Regions from separate parts of the Homo sapiens genome. Here regions 1 and 3 are each linked to region 2. The links are contacts of gene promoters, found by promoter capture Hi-C in human tissues and cell types (Jung and others, 2019). All regions are on one chromosome and are shown on one strand. The core of a region is centred on a gene start or on the middle of the fragment in contact, and the rest is flanking DNA. Distances in the headings are between cores, read along the strand shown.

Region 1 (2,700 bases), core at 111-2,610, 200 kb before region 2:
CCTCCTCATCTCTACAATTGGGTGATCCATCAGCGTCAAGCCAGGGCTCTTCCCTGTGCATGCCATTGGACAGAGCCTTTCCCCAGTCTCCTCAGGCACAGCTGCTGACCTGCGTTAGGCTCAGGCCCTTAGCTGGTTGCCGAGTTGTTCCCCTGCAGCCTGTATGTGGGTCTCTGTGGCAAGAATGTCTGGTGGCTCCTGCCCTTGGGACCTCAGCCTTCTCAGCCAGTCACACAGCGACTGTTGGTCTTTCCCGGGTCTGTTTTTGAGCACTTATTCTGCAGGCAGGCCATCTTCTGTGTGGTGTAGACCCTTCTCATGTACTTGCCATGGCAACCACACAGATGGAGATCATCACTCCTCTACATGTGCGGAACATGAGCCTCAAAGAGGGCGGCAGACCCCAGGATTTAGACCCAGATGATTCTGCTTGTAAAGCCCTTACTGTTTTCTCTCCACTCTGCCTCCTCTCTTTTTTATTGCTGGTGACTGGAGGGAGCTGGGAAGAAAACAGGCCCTAGCCGGCTGGGCAGTGCTCTCCCCAGGGGCCTGGCAGGTTTACTGGCTGCAGCAGCAGCTTTCCTTGTGGGAGGGTCTTGGGCCACGTGCCCTGCGGCTGGCCTGTAGGCTGTCACAGGTTTATTCTTGGTCCTGCAGACAATCATGACATCATCTCCATGAAGCTGTTCCAGCTGATGGTGGAGCACACGCCCGACGAGGAGAGCATCGACTGGACCAAGATCGAGCCCAGCGTCAACTTCCTCAAGTCGCCCAAAGGTGCGTGTGCACAGCCCCGCCCTGCCTGGGCCTGGGCGGCCTGACCCAGAATGGGGTGAAGCCAGCCTGGCGGGTCTTGTGGTCCAGTCGTGGTTGTGGTGGTTGTGGTCTGGGCTCTTGGATCAGCCCGGTCCTGGCAAGCGGCACTGGCTGGCCCTGTCCGAGCTCCTAGAGTATTGGGCTTGGATCGTGTCAGCTCTGGCAAGTTTTTGAGTAAATGAATGAGGCGGAAGAGAAGTCTGCAGAGAGTCAGTCCCTGAGGACATCCTAGTCACGTGAGTGCTGTGGCAGCAAGCAGTGGCTGATCAACAAACGTGTGAGTGGTGGGCCAGCATCCTCCCTCACTAGGTGCTGGGGCAGTGGCCAGCAGAGCCAGGGGGCTGGGTATGTTGGCCCACCTGTCCCTTCTGTGAGCCACCTGGAAGAAGTCGTGCTGCTGGTCAAGGGGGTGGATTCCTTAGCTAGAAGGAGAGAGAGAGCAAGATTGGAAATTGGGTTTCTACAAAACCCGAAGCCTGGGTTCTTCCCATGGCACTAATTAGCTACCCCTTTCCTCACAGAGTGAACGTTGTGGTTGGAGGAATGAGGCATCTGTGTGTGGAGAAGTCCACCCTAAGAGCCACAGATGTGTGCCTGGGGGTCCAGCCAGTGACAGAAGTGCACGGCGCGGGCTCTGTCGTAGCCCAGCCCTGGGTCCCCATGCCGTGTGGGCCAGTTTGGCCGCGTGTTTCTGCTTTTCAGGAGAAGCCAAGATCCAGTGTTTTATGTGACAGTTCACTTTTTAAAGATTCAGATTATTTTGAAATGTTTTGGGGACCACACAAACCTTGCTGCAACCTTTGGTCAGAAGGCTGCCAGCTGCTGGGTGTTTGCAGAGGTGGCACCTGCCTTGCCCACCCAGCATCCCGTGCAGCTGGCAAGGCAGGATGAACTCGTTTTTAGATTCAATCCATTTGTTCCTTCAGATGTGACCAAAGCTGCCCTCTGTGCCTAGCCATGGGCTGGGTGCTGGAGACACGAGATCAGGCAGGCCCTGCCCCTGGGGCTCATTCTAGGGTCTGCGGCAGACAGGGAGACAGAGGGAGCTGTGAGAGCCCTGAGGCTGAGTGGCTTTCTGGGGAAGCACCATCCCTAGGGACCTCCGCGTTCGGTCAGTGGCCGCTGCTGTCGGTGTGCAGAGCAGAGGCTGGGGCGAGAGTGGTCAGCAGGCCTGCTGGTGGCAGCTTGTGCAGGAAGGGAGGATGGAGGTTGGCTTGTGGCTGGCAAGAGGGTGGCATGCACGTCGCTGAAAGGCAGGGCCTGGGCCCGAGGCCTGGGTGTGGGGACGCCTGAGGAGACTGTACAGTGTGGAGTCGGGGGGGCCGCAGTCAGGGAGGGAGGCAGAGTGGCAGAAACAGGGCCCAGCCAGACCCCAGCTCCTCCACCCACAGCCTGGAGAGCTTGGGAAAGTCAGTGTCTTCTCTCCGCCTGTACAAGGGAGCGTACCAGTGGGCCCCATCCCAGGATGGGCAGGACCTGTGGGAACCTTGTGTGGAGGAGAGAGGCTGTGGGCTGGGGTGGAGTGTGGGACTCAGGTCCTGGGAGACCCTCCTGGGGGGCTGCCGAGAGCATCCAGCTGTGGGCTGGGAGAGCCTGTGACCAGGGCCGCGCTGCTCCAGAAAGGGCCCTCAGACCACAGCGTGGGGGTGGGGCTTGGATATGTAGACTCCTGGGCCTCCCCTTATCCAGAGTTGGACTCAGAGGAGCCCAGGAGTCTGGTTTTAACTGGCTTCCTGCAGCAGAAGGCAGCCCAGGCTTGTCGCTGGGGTCCCGGGTCCCTGTGGGCTTGGTCCTCTCTCTGCCCCACCCTGCCCTGGGGACTGCAGAGCTGGCTGGGATGGGCTTCACCTGACCTCTGCCCCTCCCCGGTGAGGGGGGTGAGTA
Region 2 (2,700 bases), core at 89-2,588:
GATCCATCCTGGGCCGGCATCAACCTGGAATCCAAAAGCACAGCAATTAATCTGAGTTAATAGGCCATCTGACTCGACTCTTTAAAATGGCAGCCACTTCAAGGCCTAGTGGCCTCTATGCCTTTCTGCTGCACTTCCATGGGCAGAAAAAGTTCCCCCGACTGGAGATGAAAAAATGGCCTCGATGAGCCTCTGAAAACTCCATTTTCCCGAAGCTGGGCCGATCCTGCTACATAGAAACAGCCCGTCTCTTTTTCCTCCTCTGTAGACTGGTGGACACTTGGGATGAACTAAAATTAAAACCCCTCTGCCCGTCAAAATTCCCAATTCTCAAACAGGACTAGTCCTCCCCCTCCCTCGCCAGGGGTCGAGCAGCTGGATCTCTCAAAAGCAAAAGGCTGCGGGGTCCGAGGGGGGCTCCTGGACCCTGCACAAAAAGGTACCCCCCCCTTCCTGGCTCGCTAGGGCGCAGCGGTCACAATAGCGCTGCACCCTGCGCCCAGCCAGCGCCGGAGCCTTTGCAGCGGCGGTGCGCAGGCCGCAGGCGAGCCGGCCGAGGCGGCTGCACCCCAGAGCTCGCCTTCCTGAATGCAGGCCTGCTGGATCCGCAGCTGCAGGGCGAAGAGGCCTGGACCCGGCAGAGGGAGAAACCGAGGCGGCCAGCGAAGCCCAGTCAGGGTAGCAGCAGCTGCTACAGCTCGAAAAACATGGCTGCTGCCGACGCCGCCGCCGCCTGCCCGGGCCGCGCTCCTTCCCGCAGCCGCGGCAGCACCTCCCAGCCGAGCCGATCGCTCTCATCAATATTCAGCAGCAAGCAAAGTTTGCTGCGGGAGGGCAGCCGGCCCCGCGCCCCGCAGCCTGCTACCTGAGGGGAGGCGGAGGCCGAGGTGTTCGCAGGCGGCCGGCGGGGCACGGGCCGCGCCGGGAGGAAGTTCGCGGCAGCCCGGCCAGCTAGGCCTGAGCCCGGCTGGTAGTGATGGAGGAGGGGGAGGGGGAGGAGGCCGGCGGCTGCAGCGCCGCCGGCCACCAACCCCGCATCGCGCCTGGCCCTCCCCCGAGCCCCTCACCTTACGGCCACCACCATCTTCCCCGCCCGGCCACCCTCCTCCCTCCCTTCTCCTCGCGCCTGCCCGCCGCCCACCCCAGCGCACTAGTTACCGTGCCCCGCGCCCCCTCCCGGGCCAGCTGGGGGGAGGGGGTGACCCTCATTACACTGGGGTGCGAGCGGAGCGGTGGGGAGAGAGCGGGGCCGCTCGCCGCACCCCCCTCCCCCCGCGTCTCTCTTCAGGGGAGAAGGCAGCGAGCGCGACCTGCCCCGGCCTATTCCGCCGCCGCCTCCTCCTCCTCACACCCCCACCGCGCGCGCCCCCGCGGCCGCGCGTGCGACCGAGCGCCTCGCGCCGGCCCGCGTGCGGCTGGGCCCCGAGTGCGCGCGCACCCCTTCCCCCACCGAGCGCGCGCGTTCCCTTCTCTCACTCTTCGGGGTTCAGGGCGGGTGAAGTCGGGCTTGTGAGAGCGCCGCCCAATCAGCGGAGCTGCCGCTGCCGCCCCCTCCCCTCCCCCTGCGCGCCCGCTCGCGGCCGGGGCCTACGGGCCGGCCCGGCTGCCCGGGCGGGGCCTGAGGCGGGCTCCCCAGGGGCCTCGCGCGCCTCCTTGGAGTGTCGGGGCCTGCGGGCGTCGTGGGTGGCATTCCGATCCCCTCACCTACCTCGGGGCACGGCGCTGGCCTCGGGCCGCACACGGCTCCCGCACCCTACGCGTCTCGAACCCCAACCCAGGCGGCACCTGGCGCGGCTGAGGCCTGTCCGATCGTCCCGCCAGCCCTGCTCGGGCCCGCGTCAGTCCCGGCCTCCATCTTAGGTTACAGCCCAGGCTCCCCATCCACTGGGCACCTGCCCTCAGCCCGCTGGGTTCGGCCCGAGGCCAAGGCAACCCCCCTCCTGCCGCAGGGCTCACCTGGGGGCTTGGGCTGGGGTCTTCGAGGCCTCAGGCCCCGAGCAGACGCGGCCGCAGGCGAACCCCCTACCCGGCCGCACCCCAAACCCACACCACCACCACCACCACCACCACAGACCAAGCTGAGCAGGAAACAAAATGGAGGCAGCAGCTCGGGTCTGCCTCCCTGAGCCAAGCCTGTGCAGCCCCAGGGCTCCCTCCTGTCTCAGGCTCGACGCCCGCGAGGCAGAGGCTGGATCGTCCCGGGTGCCGCGGGCAGCCGCCCTACAGCAGCGCAGACGGGCCGGGGACTCGGCCCTGCGGTGCCCACAGCCCCTCACCCACCACCCCTTCCCTTCCCCCTCCCCCCATCCCTCTCCCTCCCCTTGCCGGGCCGTGCGGGGTGAGCGGCTCTGGGGAGCCGGGTCGGGTTACCCGCCCCGGCACTGCTCGCCCGGCCGTGGCCTCCGCGGGGGAACGAAGCCAGGCGACCCCAGCGCTGAGCCCACCCCCGGCACCGAGCCGGGCTGCAGCCTGACAGCGCGTCCGCACCTCGGCCTGCAGCCGTGCGGCCCCCGCCCAGGGAGGCCGAGTCCCCAGCCCGGGCCCAGCCGGGACGAAGCTCCCTCACCACCCCCGAGCCCAGGGGTCCTCGCAGCCTCGGGCGGGGCGAGGGGAACGCCGGGGGAGGGGGTCCTCTAGTCCCTGCACCGCCTCCCGCGCCTAGTCAAGGTCTGGGCCTGGCACGGGGGCTCGGGCAGCGGG
Region 3 (2,700 bases), core at 84-2,583, 180 kb after region 2:
GCATAAATCTCATTTACATTATTTCTGAAAAGCGGTCACATCCTGCAATTCTCTTAACTAATTACACTAGTTTTCTATGCCAATTTGAAGGCTCTAGACTGATTTCTTTATAGTCCTTCTATTCTTAGCCCCTTTCTCTCTTTTCCCCAACTCTGCTTATGCTTATTTTATCTGTATATCTAAACCTTATACATCTTTTAAATTTACTCTTGAGACTTAACATCCTCTTCAAAGTCTTCATATTATTCAGGCCACACAGGACCTGTGTCACTCTCACTGTCTGTCCTGTGCCACTTTTAATCCGTTTGTGCCTCCTATCTCCTGTAAAGGATGGTATTTGCATTACCTCCTCCATTGTTCTTGCTGATTGATTGATGGGCTTACCTTCTAAGTCTTCTTACTTTAATAATAGATAGCAGTTGATTAATTATAAACTGCACTATTAACTGGATCATGCTTCCAGTTACTTTCCACTTGCCCTTTTTATCTAGTAGTTGAGTTTTGAGACTTTCTCAAGAGCTTAGTTTTGAACTGCATGACTGTTCTCCCATATGAGAGTTGAAGCCCACTTGCCATTTGCTGTAGTCAAGGTGGTGGTCTTTCTTAGGCTTCTGGTTGATAGTACTTGGTATTCCTTCCTGGGCTAAAGAATATGGCTTTGGTTTGATTTTCCTGCTGTTAAGACAGTTTTGGAAGTGGTTTTAACAGAGTATGCCTTTACTCCCTATAGGCCTCTCTGCTTTATTGTGGTGAGCCTTGTGCAGAGCAGATGTAGGTTTTAATAAATGATTATACACTTTGTCACCAGGAGAGAGTTGGAATCGCAGGCAATGTGGTTTGACTTCAAATTGATTAGCCCATTTTATAAATGTCAGAAAATTGTTTTGTGATGGACCCTTTGAATAGAGCACTAATGTTACATGCAGAGTAAACTGTCTGGCTGGGGTTTATAACAAATGCTATGAGATGTTTTATTTAGAGATAAATCACTTGTGGTTTTCTATCAGGATTTAGTTATTTATCATGAGTTCAGTTGTAGCTATTCTGTCTTCTCTGTGGTTCTTGGTTGATGTGAGGATTTTTGTTTTCAAGCATCCTCTTGCATACTTGATCAAACTAATCGTAAAGCCCTGTGAAGCATGAGGGGGCTAGCTCAGATGCTCAGATCAGCCATGTATTCCTATGTCAGGAAGAGATTGCACTCCATGAGCAGTCAGGGAAAACCAGAAGGTTGGATGAAGGAAGCCATTCATAATTAAGTTTTTGTTAGAAAAGAGATTCAATTTATGTGGGCAGATTTTTGCTGTAGGGCAGTTTGGAATTGTTTTTTATTTTTGTTGCATGGAAAGCAACATCTTGAGATAAAGAGGAGATTTAACTGCAAAAGGAGGAGAAAGTGTGTTGTCAGAAGAATCTCTGTGTCTTCTCTTGTCAGTTTACAAATCTCTAGCCTTCAGAAGGCTGAGATGGAGGCTATAAAACACCTTTGACATCCTTATATTGGAGTGGAGTTTTTGCCTTCTCTGATATTCACAGACAGTTCTCACCCTTCAACCTTCCTTTGTGAAAACTCCAAAAGGGAATTTGTTTTCATTCAGTGATTTCACTGGAACTGAAGTTGTAAGCATATTTATTTTCCATATTTCTGGTCTGGAGTTTTCAGTACTGATTCCTTGCTTTCCTATTGTGCTTTTGTGGTATTAGGCAGCAAGTATCTGTGATTACCTGTGGCTTTGTGAGTGACTCACCATTGCTTTTGGCTCTATGTTCTGATTTATTTTACTGGGAATTCATTTGGGATTTGGTTCTCTTTCAGTGTTGCTGCTTTGACCAGTAAGAGAAGCTTAGTCCTTATGCCAGAGAGTTCTGCAGAAGAAATCACTGTTTGTCCTGGTAAGTACCCCACTGTGATTTTACTGAATTTCTGATACCTATTTACCTTTTCATGCCTATTAATTTTCCTCTGACTCTTCAAACCTACTCTCTGGAGGTTTGTATGTAATTGATACGTGTATGTACATGTCTCAACACTCGTATGCGTATACACATATAGGTGTTTTTAATGGCCATTGGCTTTTATTCTCAATCTTTTCTCTCCTTAGGGGTAATTTAGTTTTGAAATTAACATGACTTTTTTTGTCTTCTTGATTGTTTACAGGCCTCATCAGAGATGGCAGCAAAGCATCAGGAATAGCATTTGCTTAACTGTACATTCAGAGCCTTTTGTTATTTAATTTGTTTAAATTATTTTAAATTAAATTGTTTTAAATTATTTTGTCAGCCAGCCTGGAGTGCGGTGGTGCAATCATAGCTCACTGCAGCCTTGAACTTCGGGGCTTAAGTTCTCCCTCCTTGGCCTCCCAAAGTGCTAGGATTACAGATGTGAGCCACTGTGCCTGGACTTCACAGCCTTTTAGTAGTTAGTTTTTATATTGCCATTTGTTGGGGTCTTACTGCATAGGAGGTTCAGAAATTGAGTTTTGTGCATGTTCTGTCATTATTTTTAATCTTAGACCTAAGATGCTTAACCTCGTTAAGTGCTTTAGTTTGCTTTTTGTTAATTGTAAAAATTAAAAGATAGGTACTTTGTTTTAGGTAGAAGAGATGCTCATTCAAAGTTGCACATGGATAGATTTAGATATACAAAATAATGTAAAATGAACTAAGATACTTACCATCTAAGAAACTCCTGAATCATTG

What was found. The method cuts DNA at HindIII sites, captures the fragments that hold promoters and counts their contacts. A contact is called where the count stands out against the background at its distance.
Region 1: a fragment that was not itself captured here is called in contact with the fragment with the promoter of NSD1 in region 2 in 1 of the 25 tissues and cell types used here (spleen).
Region 3: a fragment that was not itself captured here is called in contact with the fragment with the promoter of NSD1 in region 2 in 3 of the 25 tissues and cell types used here (lymphoblastoid cells, mesendoderm cells and thymus).

Annotation. Positions count from the first base shown.
Region 1 is chr5:177,332,361-177,335,060 of GRCh38, reverse strand. LMAN2 (lectin, mannose binding 2) reads left to right here. Exons shown (of 8, transcript NM_006816.3): 7 at 658-777. Among named protein-coding and RNA genes, the nearest start is that of LMAN2, 18 kb to the left of the region's middle. The HindIII fragment of the contact is 8,340 bases long and covers 1-2,700 here.
Region 2 is chr5:177,132,411-177,135,110 of GRCh38, reverse strand. NSD1 (nuclear receptor binding SET domain protein 1) reads right to left here and starts at 1,338. Exons shown (of 23, transcript NM_022455.5): 1 at 1,159-1,338; 2 at 1-24. The coding sequence starts at 7. RefSeq lists enhancers at 136-689, 690-1,241, 1,242-1,795, 2,009-2,303, 1,796-2,347 and silencers at 703-1,002, 1,063-1,222, 1,303-1,972. The HindIII fragment of the contact is 15,853 bases long and covers 1-2,700 here.
Region 3 is chr5:176,955,152-176,957,851 of GRCh38, reverse strand. It overlaps UIMC1 (ubiquitin interaction motif containing 1), which reads left to right. Exons shown (of 15, transcript NM_001199298.2): 8 at 1,817-1,893. Among named protein-coding and RNA genes, the nearest start is that of UIMC1, 50 kb to the left of the region's middle. The HindIII fragment of the contact is 7,008 bases long and covers 1-2,700 here.